Linked DNA regions of Homo sapiens: region 2 is linked to region 1. The links are contacts of gene promoters, found by promoter capture Hi-C in human tissues and cell types (Jung and others, 2019). All regions are on one chromosome and are shown on one strand. The core of a region is centred on a gene start or on the middle of the fragment in contact, and the rest is flanking DNA. Distances in the headings are between cores, read along the strand shown. Region 1 holds the start of SLC32A1 (solute carrier family 32 member 1). Region 2 overlaps DHX35 (DEAH-box helicase 35).

The links. Contacts are between HindIII fragments. The study calls those that stand out against the background at their distance.
Region 2: a fragment that was not itself captured here is called in contact with the fragment with the promoter of SLC32A1 in region 1 in 2 of the 25 tissues and cell types used here (lymphoblastoid cells and spleen).

The regions. Positions count from the first base shown.
Region 1 is chr20:38,722,268-38,725,803 of GRCh38, reverse strand. SLC32A1 (solute carrier family 32 member 1) reads right to left here and starts at 1,318. Exons shown (of 2, transcript NM_080552.3): 1 at 690-1,318. The coding sequence starts at 1,079. The HindIII fragment of the contact is 7,924 bases long and covers 1-3,536 here.
Region 2 is chr20:39,027,455-39,030,890 of GRCh38, reverse strand. It overlaps DHX35 (DEAH-box helicase 35), which reads right to left. Exons shown (of 22, transcript NM_021931.4): 19 at 2,392-2,473; 20 at 116-187. Among named protein-coding and RNA genes, the nearest start is that of DHX35, 67 kb to the right of the region's middle. The HindIII fragment of the contact is 7,874 bases long and covers 1-3,436 here.

The DNA.
Region 1 (3,536 bases), core at 69-2,568:
GGCTGGTTCCTGTCTGCATGCATCTGTGCATGTGTGTGTGCATATGTTCAAACGAATATTCGTGTGTTTGGTATGTGCAGGTATATGCTTTTGTTTGTGGAGCTGTAGGGGTGTACGCAGGTGCATTTGGGGATAGTACTGTGGTCTATATATAGATACATGTCGTGTGCGCCTGTGCCTGCGCCTTTGTTCGTGGGAAGGGGGGCTGTGGGCATGTGGTGTGCCTGCCTATATACGTGTGCGTGTCTATGCGTGTGTGCGGGGGGAGGAGACTCCGACCTCAGCGATTTCCCCTTCTTCTTTCCTCCCAAAAATGCAGCTGTGAATCCGTTCCAGAGTCCAAGACCAAACCGTGCCCTCCAATCCTGATTTTCTTTCTTTCTCATCGCTTCCTGCTCCCTCCCCCCATTTCCTTCACTTTTGCAGTGTCTCCGGACAGGTGTCTCAGACCGAACTTCAGCCTAGCGGTCTTGCAGCTGGTGCCGTTGGGAGGGAGCGTGGGTTAGGGCGGAAAACACCGCCTGGGGGCGTAGGTCCCCGCGCAGGGCTGGGAGGGATGGAGAAAGGGAGATTCCTGGGTACAGGAGGGGGTCTCCAGGCCGAGATCACCGGGCGACTGTCGGGGGCAGAGCCCGGCACGCTGAGCTGGGAGGGGGGAGGACAGGCAGAACTGGGAATCCCGCGCTTACCTGGATGGCGTTGGTCACGTTCCAGCCTGCCTCCCACGCCGTGATTTTGGGCTTGTCGTGGCCCCCGAATTCGCCACCACCTCCCACCTGGTCCTTGGAGCCGGAGGGCGGCAGAGGAGCTCCGCTGCCTCGCTGATAATGGATGTCTCCCTCGACGGGCGCTTCAGCGCCCTCGTCCCCGCAGGGCTCTCCCTCGGCTTTCAGGATGTCCATCTGCAGGCCCTGGCGGTGCTCAAAGTCGAGGTCGTCGCAATGCGCGAAGCCCACCGCCTCCTCATCCGTGGCCGCCTGAAAACCCATCCTGGCGAACATGCCGCTCATCTTGGCCTGGGACTTGTTGGACACGGACGTGGCCACGTTGGACAGCTTGCTGCGGAGCAAGGTGGCCATGGCGGCGGTGGGGACAGCGGAAAGGACAGAAGGACCCGAGGATGCGGGGAACGCGATGCAAGAAGGCGAGGGCTGGGGGGCGCAAAGTCGCTATCTCCGCTTGCTCTCCGCGCGGCGCCCCGGGGCTCTCTGGCTCATGACCCTCGCAGCTGGCGTTCGAGGCTCTCTCAGGGCTGGACCGGGCAAGCTGGCAGCAGGTCTGGCGGAGCGGCGGCGGCGGCGGTGGTGGCTAGTGCACTGCGGAGCTGCCGCGGGGCGCGAGCTGGGCTGCGGAGGGCGGCGGCGGCGGCGGCGGCGGCAGCGGCGTCAGAGCAGCTACGCGAAGCTGGCGCGGCGCCCCCACCCGTGCGCAGCCCAATGCGCTCCCGCCCCTCGGAATCAGGCGGTGCGGGGGTGGGGGATTGGAGAGAGGAAATACCCGGAGGCAGGGGACGTGAGGAAGGGGCTAGGAGAAGAGAAAGGGGGCGCCGAGGGATTCAGACGTGAGCTGGGGGCAGAAGAAGGGCGCCCTTGGGAAGGAGGCGGGAGGGAGCGCGTGAAAGAGGGAGCGCCGAGGGCAGGGGAGGTGGGGGGGCGAAGTGCTGCATTTCTAGGGGAGGTGCTAAGCTCGCATCCTGGCCCTTCCCACCTCGCCGCCGCAGGGTGGGAGGGGGCCGGCGTGGGCTGATGCTCGCAGTCTCCCACCCCCGGACCACCCCCTCCAGGGTCCGGGAGCTGTGCAGCCCCAGATCCTCTGGCTAAGGACTGGTCTGGGCGCCCCGAAAGCCCGCAGGACTGAGTTGTCAGTCTCTCGCGGAGCGGGTCGTCTATAAGTCAGTTTCCCTGGCACCCATCCTTCGCGCGTAAACCCGGCCGCGAGTCCCCCTTGAAGGTAGAAGTGGCTGGCATGGATCGCTCCCAAGGAAGCTCAGCCTCAGGCTCAGTCACCCGGGTTCTCTCCGCCCGTCCAGGGACGCCGCGAGGGAAGCGATTGTGCGGATCGCTCGCCACCAGCCGCTCTCCAAATGCGTGCAGAATGGAGGCGAAAGGTTGGCTTTTCTCTTTCTTTTCGTTTGGGGGTCTGGAAGAAGGCAGGACTCTATGAGGACACCTCTCGTCAGCCTCCTAGCGGGTCTGCGAATGCCCACGCCGAGAGGGGCGCAGACGGGGCCAGGCGCGGAGGAAAGAAGGGCTCGCGGCGCTGCAAGGCGGAGGAAGCAGAGGCTCGCGGTGCGCTGGGGCCCTGCTCCGACGGCCGCCTCCAGGCTGTGAAAGCTTGGGCTGTTTGTGTTGATTGGGGTACGGGTGTGTGAGCGCGAGTAAGGGAGAGACCCAGAGACAAAGACCGATGCTGTATCAGACTCTGCTTGAGGTTGGATCAGTGTGGCCTCTGAGAATGAGGTTTGGTAACCGCGTGTGTTCTGTGTCTGTGTGGTTTTGCGCGCATTCCAGTGTGTGTGCCAGAGCTAGTGTGTTGGATTACGTATGTGTTCCCGAATGGGGTTGCCTGCGTTCGTGCCTGTGTTAGTCCCTTTGTAGTAGTCTCCGTGAGGGTCCGCTGCTCTGAATGGGTCCCTGCGTAAGTCCCCAGCTGATGTCCTGGCCGGGCTCCTCCTGAGCAGTAAACCGCAGGGCTCCACCTGGCAGTCCCAGCCTGAATGGAGAAGTAGCGGCTGTGACTGGAAGTGGGGGCGGGGGCGGACGGAAAAACCGAAGGAAACAAAAAAGGAAGCAGCTCCCCATCTCCCCTCTCTCGAGGCCCTTTCTCCCTGGGAACCCCAGCCACTCTTTCTCTGCAGTATTTCTAGATTAGCTCACGTCAGCGCACAAGTAGGGCGGCCCGAGGGCTTTGGCCAGAGAGTTGGAGCTGCCAGGACAAGACAGGCTTCCCTCTCTACACCCTCCCGCCTCCTGCCACCTCCTCCCATCCCAAGCCCCTCCCAGTCTCCCGGAGGAGGCTTCTCTCCAGATAGGGAACCTCCACCACATTGGACAGAGATGCTCCTAACCTCTCCCCAGGTACCCCCTTAATTTCCCCAGAAGCTCTGGAAAGCCCCTAGCTCCTGCCTGGTGGAAACCAAGACAGAAATCCTCTTCTTAGCCTCCAGCTACTAAGACCAAAAAACAAAACAAAACAAAGCAAAACAAAAAACAAAACAAAAAAAGACCCCTCTATAGAACCGTCCTCCAAATACAGACACTCCAAGTCATGACAGGACCCAGAACAAAGACAGGAAAGAGATTCTTCCTCCAAACACAGAGATCCTCTCCTCCAAGGAGGCTTCTAAATAGAAGCGATCCCCCATCCGAAATTTGCCCTATACGGAGAGCCTCGGCCCACCCCAATTCTCAGATACAGGAAAGACAGAGAGAGAGAATTTTCCCTACAGATTCCTATAGACAAAGATCTCCACATCCTAATTGCCATCCTCTCCCCTTCTGTTTCTGGTGAAATTCTTTGGCCCACAGGAGATGATC
Region 2 (3,436 bases), core at 757-3,256, 300 kb before region 1:
ACGCCCGGCCCAGAGCAGCAATTCTAGAGGCGATGTCAAGAAACATGTACAGGAGAAAAACAAGAACATGGCCCTGTTCAAAGCAGGCACAGGCTAAGCAGCAGGATGAGCTTACCAGCGAGGCGGCTTCTCTGCATAGAGGACTGACGCAGGGTGTATGTGCAGCTCATGGTCATCACGGATGGTCCTTGGAACATAGAAGAATTTTGTCTGAAGCACATTTTAAATACTTATAGCAAGACTTTCCCACAGATATTTTTAATATTACCAAAAAAGCATGCAGACTGAACTCGTCACAAGCAAAACAATTATCTCCATCTTCTCTTGCAACCTTTCTTGATCCCTCTCCTGGCTGCCACCCCAGAAGTCAAGAATAAATCACGTGGAAAAAGCGAAGAGGAGAAAAGCAACACGCGGACACTTAGAAAAAACATTTAGGAATAAAATGCTCTGCCTATGTTTATGTGTATCTTCTGCAGGTGCTCTTTCAAAACAATTTCCTTTGGAATGGAAATAATACATGTGATTTCTTCTATAATCTAAAAAGCAAAGTTAAATACTAAAGATAATGACTATAGGGGGACGTAACGATAATGAAAAAAGAAAGCTCACAGCCAGGCATGGTGGCTCATGCCTGTAATCCCAGCACTTTGGGAGGCCAAGGCGAGCAGATCACTTGAGGTCGGGAGTTCAAGACCAGCCTGGCCAACATGGAGAAACCCTGTCTCTACTAAAAATACAAAATTAGTTGGGTGTGGTGTCACATGCCTGTAATCCCAGCTACTCCGGAGGCTGAGGCAGGAGAATCGCTTGAAACTGGGAGGCAAAGGTTGCGATGAGCCAAGATCACCCCATTGCACTCTAGCATGGGCAACAAGAGCGAAACTCCATCTCAAAAAAAAAAAAAAAAGCTCAATACTGGACTATTAATTTCTCTGAAATAGTACTTCCAATTCCAACTCAGTAGAATGATCTGTTTCTTGGGGGAAGTGCTTCAAGTGCTGTGACGGAATGCCTCGTCGGCATTGTAATAAAGCCAGCGTCCTGGGGTCCTGGGCTGTCCTACCAGGGGGTGGTGAGCTGATCAACACTAAATGTTGTCTCAAAGGAATGATTAGCCTGGAACCTCTTAGGTAGCCCACATTGTTGCTAAGGACACTGATAAAAGAATTTTCCAAACGCTAGTCAAAATTGCTAACTCTCCAGGAGAGTAGGAGCAATCAAGATGACAAGCTGGCAGCACTCCTTAGGGAAGATCTCGGGCCACCGTGGGGGTCGCCTCCACATGGACAAGTTGCCTCAAATACAGACAACTCAGGGTGGGGAGGTGAGCTCATACAATGGGCAAATGAATCACAATACTGACAGGCTACAACATGCCTGGAGTAACAAAGAGAACATACTAGAGATCATTGTAAAGTGCTATCCTGCAGTTCCAACAGTCGGCTACTAGGATACTAGATGGAGCAGATCTGGCTGTCAAAATTAAAAAAGGCTCAGTGCAACTCTGGACTCATTAACAGGAGCCCAGGACAAGGGATATCTTGGCTGACCTCAAGATAACAGGGCAGTAATATTTTCTCTGGGAAAAAAAATTAATGACAAAATAATACATAGAAGAGCTGGGGAGAAATTCTTTGGAGTGTTCTCTTATTAAAGAACAGAAAATGATGATAGCTACACTTTTAGGAGGCTACACTGAGGTTATGAAACTAAAATGAGCCAAAGACAGAAAAGACAGAATAAAAGTAACAATTCAAAGCACTGGAATGATTAGTTTGGAGAATCATGATACTGACAGGCTACAGTATGCCTAAGCTATGCTTAGTTTTCACTGCATTTGAATATAGTAAAGACCATTAGGAAGGCATCAATGAGTGATTTCCTATGCCTAGAAAATGGAACTGGAAGAATCAGGTTATGTAGCAGGAGGCACATCCAGCACATGAGAAACACCTGGCTACCTCCAAAGACACCAGACGTGGCCACACTATACCAGGGTGGGAGGGGACTTCAGTCGTGCAGATCTCTAAAGACATAATAAACTAGCCAATTGTAAAATAACTTCTCTGAGAAACATTATTTTTAATAGTTTCTTCAGGTCATATTATTCTGTCATTAGAATTGAAATATTACCAGCCTCAAGATGTATAATTGTCATCCTTCTAAAACATACAACATATAGATGAGCTGAATATGTGAGAATCATTTTTAGAAAGTCAAGATATTTTGCTTAAAGCTATGTCGCTAACCTCAACTCAGTTTTGGAAGGAGACATGGTAGAAATTACAAATAATTATGCAATTACTATCTCTGCACAGCTTTCTGTGGGGTTTGGGTCATTTGTAAGATTGTTCCTTTAACAAATGACTTCACCAAGTATCATGTTACCTATAAGCTCCAGTAGAATGAAACCTCGCTGCATTGGCGAAGAAGCCGGAGACAATGCACCTCAGAACCAGATCCGGGTCACCTACATAGGCAGCCAACAGAGAGGCGGGTGAAACCCTTGCCTGCCCTAGGCTCCGTGTGCTCTAATGCACAGGATCCACTCCCAGCACCACCCCAGGCTGCTTCAAGACACCTGGAAACCCTCTCCTGAAATGGCTCCAGCCCTACCCTTCCCAATGCTGGATGCCTGCCCCAGCACCATCTAAGGAGGTCCCACTCCCCACAACTGCTGCTGACAACAATGCTGGTCTGCTCCTTGAACCTGGGACCCCTCCAACCTCCCCTAAGCCACAGATGACTGGACCATGGCTGGGCACCAGAACCTAAGAGTGCTGCTCTGCAGGCTGGTCAGTGACCTCAGAACTCCTTTGTAAAAGAGTGTCATATGGCAACAATGTTCTTTCTATAAAACACAAACTGGAGATAGTATACAACGTTACTTCTGTGGTTATGAGCTAGTGTTTGAAAATTGAAGTAATTCTTCAAATTTTTCAAATGTTCCATTTTAACTGGTGTTTCTATTGCTACAGCTAACATCTTCCATGAATAAAGCTTCCCCACTATTAGATGATGTCCATAGGATACATTCCAAATTGTTGTGCAAAAGGCTAATGTTATTTTTATGGTTAATGACATATCACATCTCATCAATTTTAAGACTCGCTCTTTTTCTAACTTTAATTCACTGAAATTAGGACAGCATTTTACAATGATAACTGGCAGCATTTTTTTTCTTTGGTGACACATAAAATAACGATGTTTCTTACACATGATGGTATCTTAGATCCAATGGAATAAAGCATGTTGGTAAGTAAGTTCCATAAAGGTGGTACTATTTCCAAAGCCATCAACAATATATAAAAATGGCAGTTTCACTGCATTCTTACTAGCAATGTTTTGGCAAAAAGTGTTACCTTCTGTTACCTTCTTTTATATTACATTTATTTGATTACTATCGGCATATTTCTTCTTTTGTGAATTTTTT